Linked DNA regions of Homo sapiens: all the other regions are linked to region 3. The links are contacts of gene promoters, found by promoter capture Hi-C in human tissues and cell types (Jung and others, 2019). All regions are on one chromosome and are shown on one strand. Each heading gives the region's core, a stretch centred on a gene start or on the middle of the fragment in contact. The rest is flanking DNA. Distances are from core to core; before and after follow the strand shown. Region 1 overlaps PAK1 (p21 (RAC1) activated kinase 1). Region 2 overlaps PAK1 (p21 (RAC1) activated kinase 1). Region 3 holds the start of ACER3 (alkaline ceramidase 3).

Region 1 (4,375 bases), core at 112-2,611, 610 kb before region 3:
TCAGCAGTTGCCAATTTGAGACATTAATTCTGTTGTTGCTGGTTTTAATGAATTTTCTGATCCCTCTCCATGTTATTTTTCTAAATAATAACCAGAAAGTGGGAGAAAAATATTTCTTTTTGGCATAGTAAAGAGACAAGTTTAAGGTTATCAAAAGAATACATCTCACTACAGTTTATTGTTTATTTTTGAAAAGCGATAAACAATATGCATCTAAAAACGAGGCTTTTGACTGTTTATGATAAAGAAATGATAAATGTTTGGAGTGATGAATATGCTAATTATCCTGATTTGATTATTACGAATTATATACATCTCAAAATATCATAAATATGTACAATTATTACATATCAACTAAAAATAAAAGGAAAAATGCATTGATTCAAAATTAATAGTCAGTATATTCAAACTTGAAAATAAAAAATTTAAAAACATTCTCCCACACCAGTGTTTGCTCCTTCTGGGTCATTTTCTATGCCCATTATTAAAAAAAAAAAAAAAGTCTCTTCACAGATGTTTTAATTTCTAAGGGGTAATGTTGTAATTTGTAGTGGGTGAAAATGAAACCCTGGAAAAGTTAGGAGACCTTCTTTAGTGTCTATGTTACTGCATGACCTTGTAGAAGTAATTTTTATCTCTGTGTTTTGTCCCAACTGTAAAATGGGGATAGTAATAGTTGCTACGACTAGTTTACAGGATCATGAAGCAATTAAAATAATGACTATAAAGGAATCTTTGAAAAGTATAATTTGCTTGTTAGTTGTTAGGTGGTGGTAAGCTTACTAAAAATGGCTTATGTTACTGAATACCTGTTCTGTACCAGGCCCTATATGAGATGTTTAACATGTTCTTTTTAACCCTCAGAATAACCTTATGAGATGATTGCTGGTATCTCTGTATCATAGGTGAGGAAACCTGAGAGTCATACTAGTAAAGGGAGCTTATTTAAGGTTTTGCTGCAAGTAAGTGGCAGACCAACAATTCTAGTCCATGTGCACCTGACTCCAGCAGCTATGTGCTATTTTCAGTACAGAGGCTGCTTTTAATGTTTCTGCACAGAGGATATAGGAATGTTTTGCAAGTAAATATATTGCAGTGAGAGTTAAAGTTTCCATTTGGTATGTTTTTTTTGTGTGTGTATTAGAAGGCTTGGTGAAGACAGATTTACATTCGTTTACATTTATCATTCATACAGGAAAAATAACATCTTTCCTGGATGTTATTTTGTTCAATCTTCGTAACAGCCCTATGAGATAGGTATTCCCATTTTACGAGTTAGCAGGCTGAGGATCATATTAATAGAAGTCTTGGCTTGCTCAGAGGCACATCATTAATGAATGCCTGAATATTGATTTTAAACCACATTTTAAAATTCTAAGTGTAGTACTTTACTTTGCCACTATAACATATTGCCTTTTAAACTCTATCAAACTAAATTTTGGGGCACTAGACACATTCTTTTAAATTGGTTCCTAATCTCTTTAGCTTCTTCTCCCTAAGAAAACCCTGACTGAAGTCCACAGTTTGAACTAGAAAGGATAATTGCTGATAAAACTCTATGTCAGATGGTCATGATGTTGCAGACTTAGAAGATAATACCTCTTTACTGAAGCTGCCAGATCAGGCTTTATCCAGTATTTGGAATCACTTGTGCCTGAATATTTCCCTGTGCCATCGTAAATTTATTAACTTAATGTGCTACATTTTTCTACCCTTTTTGTAAGCCTTTTCTTTCATGAATATCTTCCTCTTCTCTCCCATTCTTTTAGTTTTTGAGATGGGGAAAGTCATGTATATGCTAGGCTTCTCCGGATTATCCCTTCTTGAGGAATAGTGTAGTAGTAAGTCTAGAAAGAACCAGAGGTTCATTCATCCCTCATGAGTTTTCGTGGTATTGATTGACTGTAGAATTCATCTAATTCTTAAGTCCATTATGTCTTGGCTTTTGTTCCTGGAGTCAGAGTTAGGTAATTTGCATGCAGGATTGGGAAATCCATTCTTGTTTATGGGCTGCTTTCTTTTATTACTTTTCTACTTCCAGCCTTCTCCAATATCCCTTTCCCTTTCAGACTGTTAAGTACTAACTGAGGCTGGCAAGAGCATTTTCTAATTTATAGAATCTGCCTTTTGAATCTTTTGGGATGGCAAATGACAATGACAGTATATGCATGGCTTCCACCCTCATCTGCCTGCCTATATCTTTAAGGTCCAGCTTTCCTTATTTCCTCCTGGATTCCCACAAAGCTAAGATTGATGTCTTCCTCACTGGTGGAACCCTTGATTTGTGTATTACTGCACTTACCAAGGGAGGGTTTAAGGAAGAGCACAAAATTTGAAGTTAGACAAAGAGCTACTTGGACACTTATTTAAATCTCTATTTGTTCATTTGAAAGAAATAATACCTAACTTACAGAATTCTTGTGAAGATTAATAATATATGTAAAAGTGAATTGTAAGATACTGAGCTATATAGATGTTAGGTAGAGTAGTTTGTAATTTTATGACTATGATTGTGTGTAGCAGTGGTTTTAATTTCGGCTATGCACTTGAATTACTTGTGAAGATGTAAAGAGTTGCCTTGGCATCTCTATTTTGAAAGGTTTATAGGTGATTCTGATATGCAAAGTTGAGAAGCACTGCCTTATATTAACAATGTTTTGCATAAATGTCTTATGTAAGTATTATATGAAAAGTAATATTTTATTGCCATTTAAAGTTCATTCATTTGCTAAATACATATTATGCATCAGGCATTGTCATAGGTTCTGAATAAACAGATGAATCATAGCCTCTACCCTTGGGTTTATAGTTTCCGGGAGAAACAGACATGTGCATAGACAATTACACTACATTGAGACAAAAAATGACAAAAATATGGAGATAAGTGCAAGTGCCATGTGAACACAGAGGAAGGGCATCTGCTGCACTTGAAATGGGGGTGGCCTGGCAAGCATTCTTAAAGGAGGTGACATCTAAGATGGGTTCTGAAAAATGATCAGGGGTTAACGAAGCACAGTCAGGGAGGGGTGAGAAGAAAGGGGAGATGATGGACCCTCTTGAAAGAGAGAGCAATATGTGAGCAGAAGATTTGAGAGCCTGTTTGGGGAGCCCTGTGTAGTTTAGTATGCTTAGAAGATAGGGTGTAAAGTGGGGAGGCGTGAGAGCAGAGAGGAGGCAGGGCCCAGATGATGAAGGGCCTTTTGTATAATGTACAAAATACTTTTACTGATATTATCTGACTTTATTCTTTGGACAATCCCCTGGGTTAGCTAGGACAGGTGTTGTTTTATATTCATTTGATAGAAGAAAACACAAAGAGGTTAATTGACTTGCTGAGGCTATACAGCACAGCTAAGATCTGAAGCCAGGTTCTTATGATTGTTTAGTTCATCATGCTTTTTCTATTACACCATAGCCGTCTTAGACTTTTGCGGTGTGGTAGGGAATCAGGTAAGCTCTGTGGATATATGCACAACAATTTGGAAGCTGTAATGTGCTAGACTGATGTTGGCTAACTCATTTTACAGATGAGGAAATTTAGGAGCAGAGACATCAAGCTGTCATTTGAAGACTTTTTTTTTTTTTTGAGATGGAGTCTTGCTCTGTCGCCCAGGCTGGAGTGCAGTGATGCGATGTCGGCTCACCGCAAGCTCTGCCTCCCGGGTTCACGCCATTCCCCTGCCTCAGCCTCCCAAGTAGCTGGGACCACAGGTGCGTGCCACCATGCCCGGCTAATTTTTTGTATTTTTAGTAGAGACAGGGTTTCACCGTGTTAGCCAGGATGGTCTCAATCTCCTGACCTTGTGATCTGCCCGCTTCTGCCTCCCAAAGTGCTGGGATTACAGGCGTGAGCCACCTCGCCCGGCCTTGAAGACATTTTTAAAAATTATTACTGTGTAACCACAGCAAGTCACTTAACCGTCCTGAGACTCAGTTTTCCTTAGCTGTCATATAAATGTGTTGAATTTGATGCCAACTTCTTTGCTTGAATATTTCGACAGTGATTCTTAACCTTCTCACCTACTCCCTGCCCTCACCCTTTCTCTGTGATACACTGGGATGTAGTCCATCAGTAACAGTATTTCACTATGGAAATAGTTCCCAATGGGCTACAGGAACAAAATGTAAATTGCCAGTTTTGGGGATGGGTAAAGAGGGACTTGGTATAGTTGGAGGGGCTCTTGGTTCTCCAATTACCTGTTAGAGAATTACTATTAATATTTTATTTATTTATTTTTTTGAGACAGGGTCTTGCTCTGTCATCCAGGTTGGAGTACAGTAGCTCCATCATAGCTCACTGCAGTGCTGCCCTCCCGGGCTCAAGCAATCGTCTCACTTTAGTCTCCGAGTAGCTGGGACCACAGGGGCATGCTAC
Region 2 (4,812 bases), core at 133-2,632, 570 kb before region 3:
GGCCAGTAGGAGCCAAATCAGAAGTTGGCTTCTGTCAACTTTTGATATGTCCCTATCATTCTTTGACTACTTCCTTGCTTTCTAGCCCAATAAGATGTTCTAGGTTCATCCTGTACTTTCTCTATACCAGCCAAGGAATCCTGATGTGTGTGTGTGTGTTTTTTTTTTTTTTTTTTTTTTTTTTTTTTTTTTTTTTAGTATTAAATGGCATTTAGAATCCAAAATCTGGTTCCTAGATAATGCTCATTGTTATTGGACCATTGCTGCTCCCAGGCCTTCTCATAGACATAATGAGGAAATGAGGTTCTGACACCCCCATCACAGGCTCTCCCTACTGTGTGGATGCCCTCCTTATCTTGCTTGGGCTTTGGTACCCTATAGCAGGGTGCTCTTCCATGACAACTCTTTCTTAACTGTGGTTGGCTTCTGACACACTACACCAGGGCACCCCTCTCTCCTGATACGGATGCCTTCCTTGCTATACTTAGACTATGATATTCCACACCAGTCCACCTCCCTGCCCCAAATGTGGATGCTCTTTTCACCCTGCTTGGGCTCTGATTCTCCTCACTAGACTACTTGTCTCTTCCTCCCCCTCCTGATGGACTCACCCTGCTTAGGTCTGACCACAGTGTTGGGCTGCCCTCATCATCTCTTAACTAGACTTTTTTTTTTTTTTTTGAGATGGAGTCTTGTTCTGTCGCCCAGGCTGGAGTGCAGTGGTGCAATCTCGGCTCACTGCAACCTCCGCCTCCTAGGTTCATGCCATTCTCCTGCCTCAGCCTCCCGAGTAGCTGGGGCTACAGGCGTCTGCCATCATGCCCAGCTAATTTTTTTCTTTTTTTGTATTTTTAGTAGCAACGGGGTTTCACCGCGCTAGCCAGGATGGTCTCGATCTCCCGACCTTGTGATCTGCCCGCCTCGGTCTCCCAAAGTGCTGGGATTACAGGTGTGAGCCACCGCGCCTGGCCTTAACTAGACTATTATAACACAAAGCCTCCTAACTGATCTCCTTGCTTTCAATCTTCTTATACCTTTCACATTTCTGCAAGAGTGATCATTCTAAAATATAAGTCAAATCATGCCACTGCTCTGCTTAAAAACATTGTAATAGTTCCCTTTTGCTTAGAGAATAAATTTCAAGTTCCTTGGGCTGTCATTCAAGGATCTCTAGTATCTGACCCAAAGGTACCTTTCGTCCTCATTTCTTATTAGTTCCTTGGTATACTGTGCACTCCAACTATCGCCACTGGCTACTCCTTAGACATACCCCAGTACATTTACTCCTCTGGCTTTTTGCCTTTATCCTCTCCTCTGTCTGGCTTAGCCAACTCTCTTCACTGTCTGATAAAATCCCTCAGAGTCCTAGTTCAGATGTCTGCTATGGATGTCAGAGCCTGAATACAGTGAGGAAGATAACAATAAGAGGAAGGAATTACCTGGTGAAACCTCTCTGACCTCTATAGTCATAAACAGTCCCCTTTTTTTCTACTTCTGATGGAGTATTTACTTCATTCTCTCTCTTTTCACAATCAGCTGTTTACATATCTGTTGCCTCTGATTCATTGGCTGCTCCTTGAATGCACTCAACACAGGGCATTGCATCTAGTAGACCCTCAGGGAATGCTGATGGAACTTGTCAAGGGAATGAATTTTGGATGGTGAAGTTACCACAGCAGTGAATCTGTTGCTTTCATTTGAAGTCCATTCACAGGTCCCACTGAGGTCTGAGAGGCTCTGACTACAAGAAAGGGTTTGGAGTCTGGCATCCTTGGGTCTAGATATCTGCCCTGTGCCAGAGCTCTTTCTGAGAAAATGATATATTCACACTATTCTCCTCTTTAGTAAATTCCAAATATGTCTTTAAAAAAAAATCTACACTGTCATCCTAAATAAAATAATTCCTAGCTACAGGAATATAGGTATTTAAAGCTGCAAATAATAGCAGTGACATCATCCTACTAAAAAAGCCTGCCCCAAATTGTCTGAAGGCCAGCATTGTGATATGTGTCTCCTGACAGCCTATCCCTGCAGAGACCCTCAGTCTGTCTCTGCAGAGACACTTAGGCTGAAGTGTCAGCAAAGGAGGGTTTTAGACTTTCTCAGTGACTTTACCAGTCTGCACTTTTTGGAGCTGTGTGGGAAGCATCACAGGCTAGGTTCCTTGTAGCATGTGGGGGTTTCTAGAGGGGAAGAGAAAGATAGGAGTCTGTATTTCTTTAGATCCCACTACCAACCCCATTTGCTCCAGCCATAGCAGCATCTTGAACTTTTCTTGTTCTGATCATTCATTCTTCCGGGGCTTTGTCCAGGTTTTCTTTTCTACCCTGAGATTGAACTGTCTGATTTCAAAGCCTAGGCTCTTTTGTGTTTCATAATCATAGCACCGAATTTTTTTTTTTTTTTTTTTTAAAGATTGCTCATTTTTGCTTTTCCTGTCAGGTTTTCAGTCTCATTAAAATAATTTCTAAATTGAGATCAGAATATTTTCTAATATACAGATTCAATTTTTGCCTCCACAGGGGTTGAATCAAGGTATACTTACCTACAAGACTAACTCTTATTTTGATTTGGCCTGAGACACAGTAGAATGTTCCCAATTTAAGATTAGCACTATTCCATCTGCCTGGTGCTAATTGAAACTGAAGAGGAAGGAAAGCTTTTATTCTATAATTGTTTGGAGAGCAGCATGGAAAACTCCTTAGAATGTGATGAACTTGATATTTACTAGGTTTATAAGTTTTGGCAAGTGTTAAGCTCTCTGTGCCCCGATTTTCTTACCTGTAAAATGAGGGTAATAAAGCCAATTTTTAAAGGGCTGTTATTAGGTTAAATGATATGATTCTTGTAGGGTTGACTCTGGTTTTGACTTTGTCACCAACAGTGGGAGGTGGGAGTCATCAACCTAAGCATTGTCCCTGGCTTAGTATATGCCATAATTTCACACTAAAGCTACGTTTACTTCCATTATCTTATATAACCTTCATATTGTGATCAGAGAAAAAAAGATGGTGGTGGTGGTTCCCATTTGTCAAATAAGGAAATTGATACTCAGAGAAGTTGAGTGGCTTGTCTGAAAACAGAGACCTCTGACTCCTAGTCTGAGACTCCTTTTGTTCTTAACAAGTCTTAGGAGAGGGCCGTGTGGTGTAAAAAAAAAAAAAAAAAAAAAAAGAGGCCTTCAATTGAAAAGTCAAGAATGGGCTTGGTGCAGTGGCTCAAGCTTGTAGTCCCAGCACTTTGGGAGGCTGAGGTGGGAAGATTCCTTGAACCCAGGAGTATTTTTTCTTTTTCAGAAACAGGGTCTTGCTCTGTCACCCAGGCTATGTGATCATAGCCCACTGTAGCCTTGAACTTGTGGGCTCAAGCGATCCCCCTGCCTTAGCCTCCCAAGTAGCTAGGATTATACGCAGAAGCCACTGCACTAAGAATATCTTGATTTTGTAGTTTTAGCTAGGATAATTTGGGAAAGTCAACTCAGTTTCTACCTTATTTAAACAGAAATATGAATTATTCTTTTTAACTCACTTTGGCAAATAATTGTCGAGCATTTACTATGCCTTACACGGTGCTAGGCTTGTCCCTTCTGTCAAGCTGTTTATATTTCACTAAGGATAAGAGATACAGATAATTAGTTTAAGTGAAAAGAGTTATAACAAATGTGTATGTGGCAGAAGATAATGGTGGCTGTGGTGGGAGTGGTCCAGGAGGGTGCCACAGAGATAGCCGTGGGGCTGGGCATTGCTTCTGAGGAGAAATCTCAAAGGAGGGTATGTAAGAATTAATTGGATAATGGATATGAATGTGCTTTATTAGTTGCCACATAAATGCAGCTTTTTACAACTGTCAATTCTTACAGAAGGTGCCTCTTTTCTAGAAACCTTGGCTGACCGAGTAGAACACCATAGTTGGAGTCCAAACTTAATTAAAGTGAGAAGAAAGATTTTAGTAGATTGAGATTTTATATTAAAAAAAAAAAAAGCAAAAGCCTGTGTCTGAAGTTTTTGGAATCCAGGAGTCCTTAAAATGGGATGTGTATGCCTATTAAAATTGTCTTCTACTTTGATGACACAGTGGACCTCAGCCACTTTTGAGTTTATAAAGGACTTATTTATTATCACTTAAAAAAAAGCCACTTGTGCTCCTGCAGCATTTTAGATATTTAAAACAGCCTTGCAAACAAGTATGTATCCTGGGGAATAAAATGAATCAGGACAAGACAAAGAGAAATTGGGCGGCTGAGCCAAAGATATGTAATGTTTTTATTTTTTATATTTGTTTGGGTTCAGTAGATGTAATTATTGAGAGCTTTGTATGTGCTAGGCTTTGTATGAAGTACTGAGGGAACAGAGATGAATGAAGCATTTCGTAAACAAGGGGACATATAGTCTGGCTGGAGATACAAGACATCTGTGGTAAGTGATAAGCATTTTTATGAGGTACTCTAAGATCTTAAAGGTGGAGGACCTACTCAAGCCGTTGGGTAAGGACTGCATCAGAGATGGCAAGTTAGAGGAGAGGACACCTGAAGATTAGAAGTTTTGGAGGAAACAGAAGGGAATAATGGGAGATAAGTGTGTTCTATGCAATGGTAATAGCTTGAAGAAAGGCACCAGGATTTAAATAGTACCTGGTACTTAAAGCACCTACAAATAAGAGAAACATTCCTCAGAATTTAATGCTGGAGTGTAGTAACTGATAAGACTTTGTATTTTGTCCCCTTTTTGAAGAGATAGAACATTTTTAGTTAGTGTTAGTTATAAGATTTTATAGTGGAACATTTGTTTTTACTGTACAGTATTTTGTGTTCCC
Region 3 (4,465 bases), core at 789-3,288:
CGATGCCCAGCCCAGTTTTTTCTTGGTTCTAAACTAAGAGTCATTATTACCTACATAGACCCATAAAGCTGCAACTAAGGCCAGCCCCTTTTCTCTATTAAATAATTTTTTCCTTCGAAAATATTGAGTTCATTGAACAATGTCTGATTTAACACTTTCAGTGACAGAAAGTCCTCTGTCCCCCAAGTCAACCTTTCCCATATCATTGGTGAGAAGGTTTTTCCTTATATTGAAGCAAACTTTTCCCCATTACAGTTAGTTTCTGCCCATATGCCCTAATTCCAGATTCCAAATAAATTAAAAAAAAATTATTCTATATGATAGCCCATCCAATATTTGAAGACTCTTGAATTCCTCTTTTCCATGTTACACATTTCCAGCGCAGAGTGCATGGTTTTACATCTCTTTCCTCGTGGTCATGGTTCTCTGGACCAGGCATGGGCTTGCCAAAGTGATCTAACAACAAACTGGTAAAGCGCTTCCTTTGCCAACATGTGGGTTCCCAAGTAATTGTATTACAAATGATCCCTTTGCCAATATTTCTCCATGATTATGTAAAAATTATTAATTTAATAGTTGAAGAAAAGTGACTCTTAGCCTAAATCATGGTCATAAGAGAATAGTACTAAAGTCCTGAAAACTGCAAAAAGTGTTCTTTTTTTTTTTTTTTGAAACTTAGCCAATTACCAGAACAGAATAAAGTGGGACCATTTGTCATGATATGCTTGCCTCTTTCCTACAAAGCCATGCACAGATGCCTGAGAACAGGACTCAACAATGAGAAGGTTAGCTAAGAAGAGTTTCACTTCACGTCCTGAGAAGTAGATCCAACTAAAAGAAGGCAGTAATCATTAGCCAAAGGATAGTCTTTGCACTTTGCCAGAAGCAGGTACCTAAAAGAAGGATCAAATATTGTGCTCTCAAAACCTGATTAAATGATAGAAAAAGAAGTGGCAGATTTCTCCTAGCCTGGCAGGAAAAATCGTCTAGGAAAACAGACAGACACCCACATAGGCACACAGAACAAGCCCAACCTGACCAGCAGTGCCTGACAGAGCAGCCGCTAAAGAAGAATGCTTAAATCCTCAGAAGGTGCAGTCGGTGGAAGTAGTGTCCTCAGATGACCCCTAACTCCTAGATAGTTGGATAGGACAGAATGGAGCAGGGACTTGGTCCTCTGTGCTCTTGGGAGCCTGGCAGGGGCAGAAGGTACAGGCTAGGTGCAAGATGCCTTCGACTCCTGGTGCAAGATGACAGTTGAATAATCATACTCAGAGAGCAGATGACCTCTGGTACTTGAAGACATCCTGGGGGATAGGGGTGGGATGGTTCAGATCTCAGACTAGTGAAACTGTTCCCTGGAGGTGAGCAAGGAGGTCTAATATTCCAGTGAAAAGGGAAGGGAAAGACGGTAGAATTCTCACGGATTGGGGGAAAGACGAAGCTAGGAACTGTACCCTTCTGGTGGTGGCAACAGCAGAGCAGGTGTCCTGGGCCCTCATTCCAAGGGGCAGGGTCCTCCACTCTCCCAGCCTGGCCCCACTCCGCTCTCGGGCAGGAATTCCCATTCCCAACCCGGCTCTTCAGGCTTTCCCCCTTAGGTCCAGCAGGGGCTCCCCACTTCCCACTGCTCTTCTGCCCCCCCAATCCTCAGGCCCCCTTCCTCCCTCCCAGACCCCGGTACTCCTCCCTCTACACACTGGACTCCCGGCCCGCTCCTCTCAGCCTCCCGCTGGCCCAGGGCGCCGCATTCCAGCTCCCGGGGCCAGGCCTGGCACCTCCCTTCGCGGCCAGGTTCGCTCTTTGCCTTCCTCACACGGCGTCTCCTCAGCCCGGTGCCCTCTCGCCCCCACTCCCCTCCTCAGGCCACACTCACAGAACTCGGCGATGTACCAGGTCACGGAGTAGTTCTCCTCGCACCAGTCCAGCGTGGAGGTCGTGGGGCCCCAGTAGCCCTCTCGGTCCGCGGCCGGAGCCATCACGCCGCCGCCGCCGCCGCCCAGGCGCTCCGCTCACTGTGCCGGGTTAGGCTGGCGACCAGGCCGGCTCCGGCCCAGCCCGCGCGCTCGCTCGCGCCCCGCCCGGCCCTGCCTCCCCGAGGGGCGGGGCCTGGCGCCGTTACTGACACTGCCCTGACGGAGGCCCCGCCCACCGGCGCCGCTGGGCCGCGGGGCCGGGCCAGGCCCGACCTGGTGTAAGGCCCACTCGGAGGGCGCCGGCTGGCCCCGCCCCTCTTCACCCTTGGGCGGGGCAGGGGCGTGATCCAGGAAGGAGCCGGGGGCCTGGGCTTCCTGGCCGGTGCAGACACGCCAATGGCCGTAGGTTGGGGGTTCCTGACATCCCAGAGGCTATATTCTGTCAGGATGTGCCAGAGCCTCTATTTGTGTGCGTGTGGTTTGATTTAATCGGGGCGGGGGTGGGATGAATACTTCTATCAAGCCCTTGCTTGATTAAACCTGTGCGGCGAAGCGCCTCTATGTCTTCCATTGAGCCACAGGCCTCAAATGGAGCCCCAAAACAGAGTACCCCCAACCAATCCCCGTGATTCTCAGGAAATAAACCGTGATTTTCTGATAAAGGTGTAAGTGTCTCTTCGGTACAAAGGGAAAGGGTGAACAACCCAGGACCGAAAAAAAAAAAGTAGGTTCTGAGATCCTAAAAAAAAAGAATGCTGCTAGCTAGAGCACTAAAGCAAAGTTTCCCTGCTTCGTTTGGGCCTCCAAGCACAGAGGTTTCCACGTTCTAACTATAATTGTGCCCTGCTCTTCAGGCAACCAACAGCCTACCCCTACTTCCAACTTCAAGTCTAATACTCCCAGCCCCCGTCTGGGAGTATCGTAGACGGCAAAACCCCGTGTCTACGAAAAATACAAAAATTAGCTGGGCGCGGTGGCTCAGACGTGTGGTCCCAGCTACTTGAGAAGCTGAGGTGGGAGGATCACTTGAGCCCCCGCGGTGGAGATTGCATGCAGTGAGCTGAGACTGTGCCAATCCAGCCTGGGAGAACAGAGCGAGACCCTGTCTCTAAATAAATAAATAAATAAATAAATAAATAAATAAATAAAAAGTCTAGTACTCCACAGGTCTGCCAGAGAGCTCTTCCTAAAACAGATGCAACCACCCTTGCCCCTAGTGTTCAGCTACACCAAACTCAAACTTTCCCCTCTCCTAGAATGCGCTGGGTCACCTGCCTTTGCTCCCACAGTTCAACTGGGACAGCCTAACTCTCTTCTCCGTTTGACCAACTCCCCACTCTTCTTTTAAAATCCAGCTCTCTGAAGCCATCCCAGATGTTTACACCCTAGAGCTTCCTTGCCCTTTGTTCACATCCTACTGTGCTACATCCTGATCAGAGACCTTGCTTTCCCTTCTTTATGGTCTTAGTATTAGGACTCTGCCTGAATACACAGTAAGAAATGAAGAGTAAAAATGAAGGATGATACAACTGCTATTTTCTAAATAAATAAGTCAGATGTGGTGCAAGTCAAAGGTAAAAGAGAGGACAAGGAGAGATGAAGAGCCCACAGCCTTTCTACAAAATAACCATAGCCAATTAGCAGGAAATAGATGCAGAACTTTTATTTGCTAGGTGCAAAACCTAGGGAAGCAGTGTATCTTTTTTTTTTTTTTTTTTTTTTTTTGAGACAGTCTTGCTCTGTCGGCCAGGCTGGAATGCACTGGCATGATCTCAGCTCACCGCAACTTCCGCCCCCTGGGTTTAAGCGATTCTCCTGTCTCAGCCTCCAGAGTAGCTGGGACTACAGGTGTGCACCACCACGCCCAGCTAATTTTTGTATTTTTAGTAGAGACAGGGTTTCACCTTGTTGGCCAGGCTGGCCTCGATCTCTTGACCTCGTGATTCACCCGCCTCGGCCTCCCAAAGTGCTGGGATTACAGGCGTGAGCCATCGCACCCGGCCGGAAGCAGTGTATTTTAATACGAATAGTAGCCTCTCTGAAATTTTTCTTTTTTGAGACAGAATCTCGATCTGTCGCCCAGGCTGGAGTGCAGTGGTGCCATCTTGGCTCGCTGCAACTTCTGCCTTCCGGGAATCGTGCCTCAGTACCCCCTCATCCCCATAGCTGGGATTACAGGAGGCTGCCACCACACCTGGCTAATTTTTGTATTTTTAATAGAGACGAGATTTCACCATGTTGGCCAGGCCAGTCTTGAACTCCTGACCTTGAGTGATCCACCCTCCTTGGCCTCCGAAAGTCCTGGGATTACAGGCCTGAGTTACACCCTGCCTGGCCTGAAATTTTTATTTTGAATGTCATTGAGCTTCTACTATATACCAGGCCCTGTTTGGCTGCCTGGGTGCTAGGACCACACAGAGGTAAACATGAAAGATCCAAGAAGGCCGTCTCCAGAGAGATAAAAGCCATTGAGGTGTGGGGAAACATCTATTTCTAGTCACTTTATCTCATATTCTAAAACTTCCGTTTTGTTTATGTGTTTATGTAAT

What was found. Contacts are between HindIII fragments. The study calls those that stand out against the background at their distance.
Region 1: a contact is called between a fragment that was not itself captured here and the fragment with the promoter of ACER3 in region 3, in 1 of the 25 tissues and cell types used here (dorsolateral prefrontal cortex).
Region 2: a fragment that was not itself captured here is called in contact with the fragment with the promoter of ACER3 in region 3 in 1 of the 25 tissues and cell types used here (small bowel).

The regions. Positions count from the first base shown.
Region 1 is chr11:77,465,814-77,470,188 of GRCh38, reverse strand. The region is part of intron 1 of PAK1 (p21 (RAC1) activated kinase 1); the gene reads left to right. Among named protein-coding and RNA genes, the nearest start is that of PAK1, 6.1 kb to the left of the region's middle. The HindIII fragment of the contact is 6,447 bases long and covers 1-4,375 here.
Region 2 is chr11:77,424,441-77,429,252 of GRCh38, reverse strand. The region is part of intron 1 of PAK1 (p21 (RAC1) activated kinase 1); the gene reads left to right. Among named protein-coding and RNA genes, the nearest start is that of PAK1, 47 kb to the left of the region's middle. The HindIII fragment of the contact is 5,345 bases long and covers 1-4,054 here.
Region 3 is chr11:76,858,491-76,862,955 of GRCh38, reverse strand. It overlaps ACER3 (alkaline ceramidase 3), which reads right to left and starts at 2,038. Exons shown (of 11, transcript NM_018367.7): 1 at 1,877-2,038. The coding sequence starts at 1,979. RefSeq lists silencers at 1,966-2,225, 2,266-2,365. The HindIII fragment of the contact is 20,791 bases long and covers 1-4,465 here.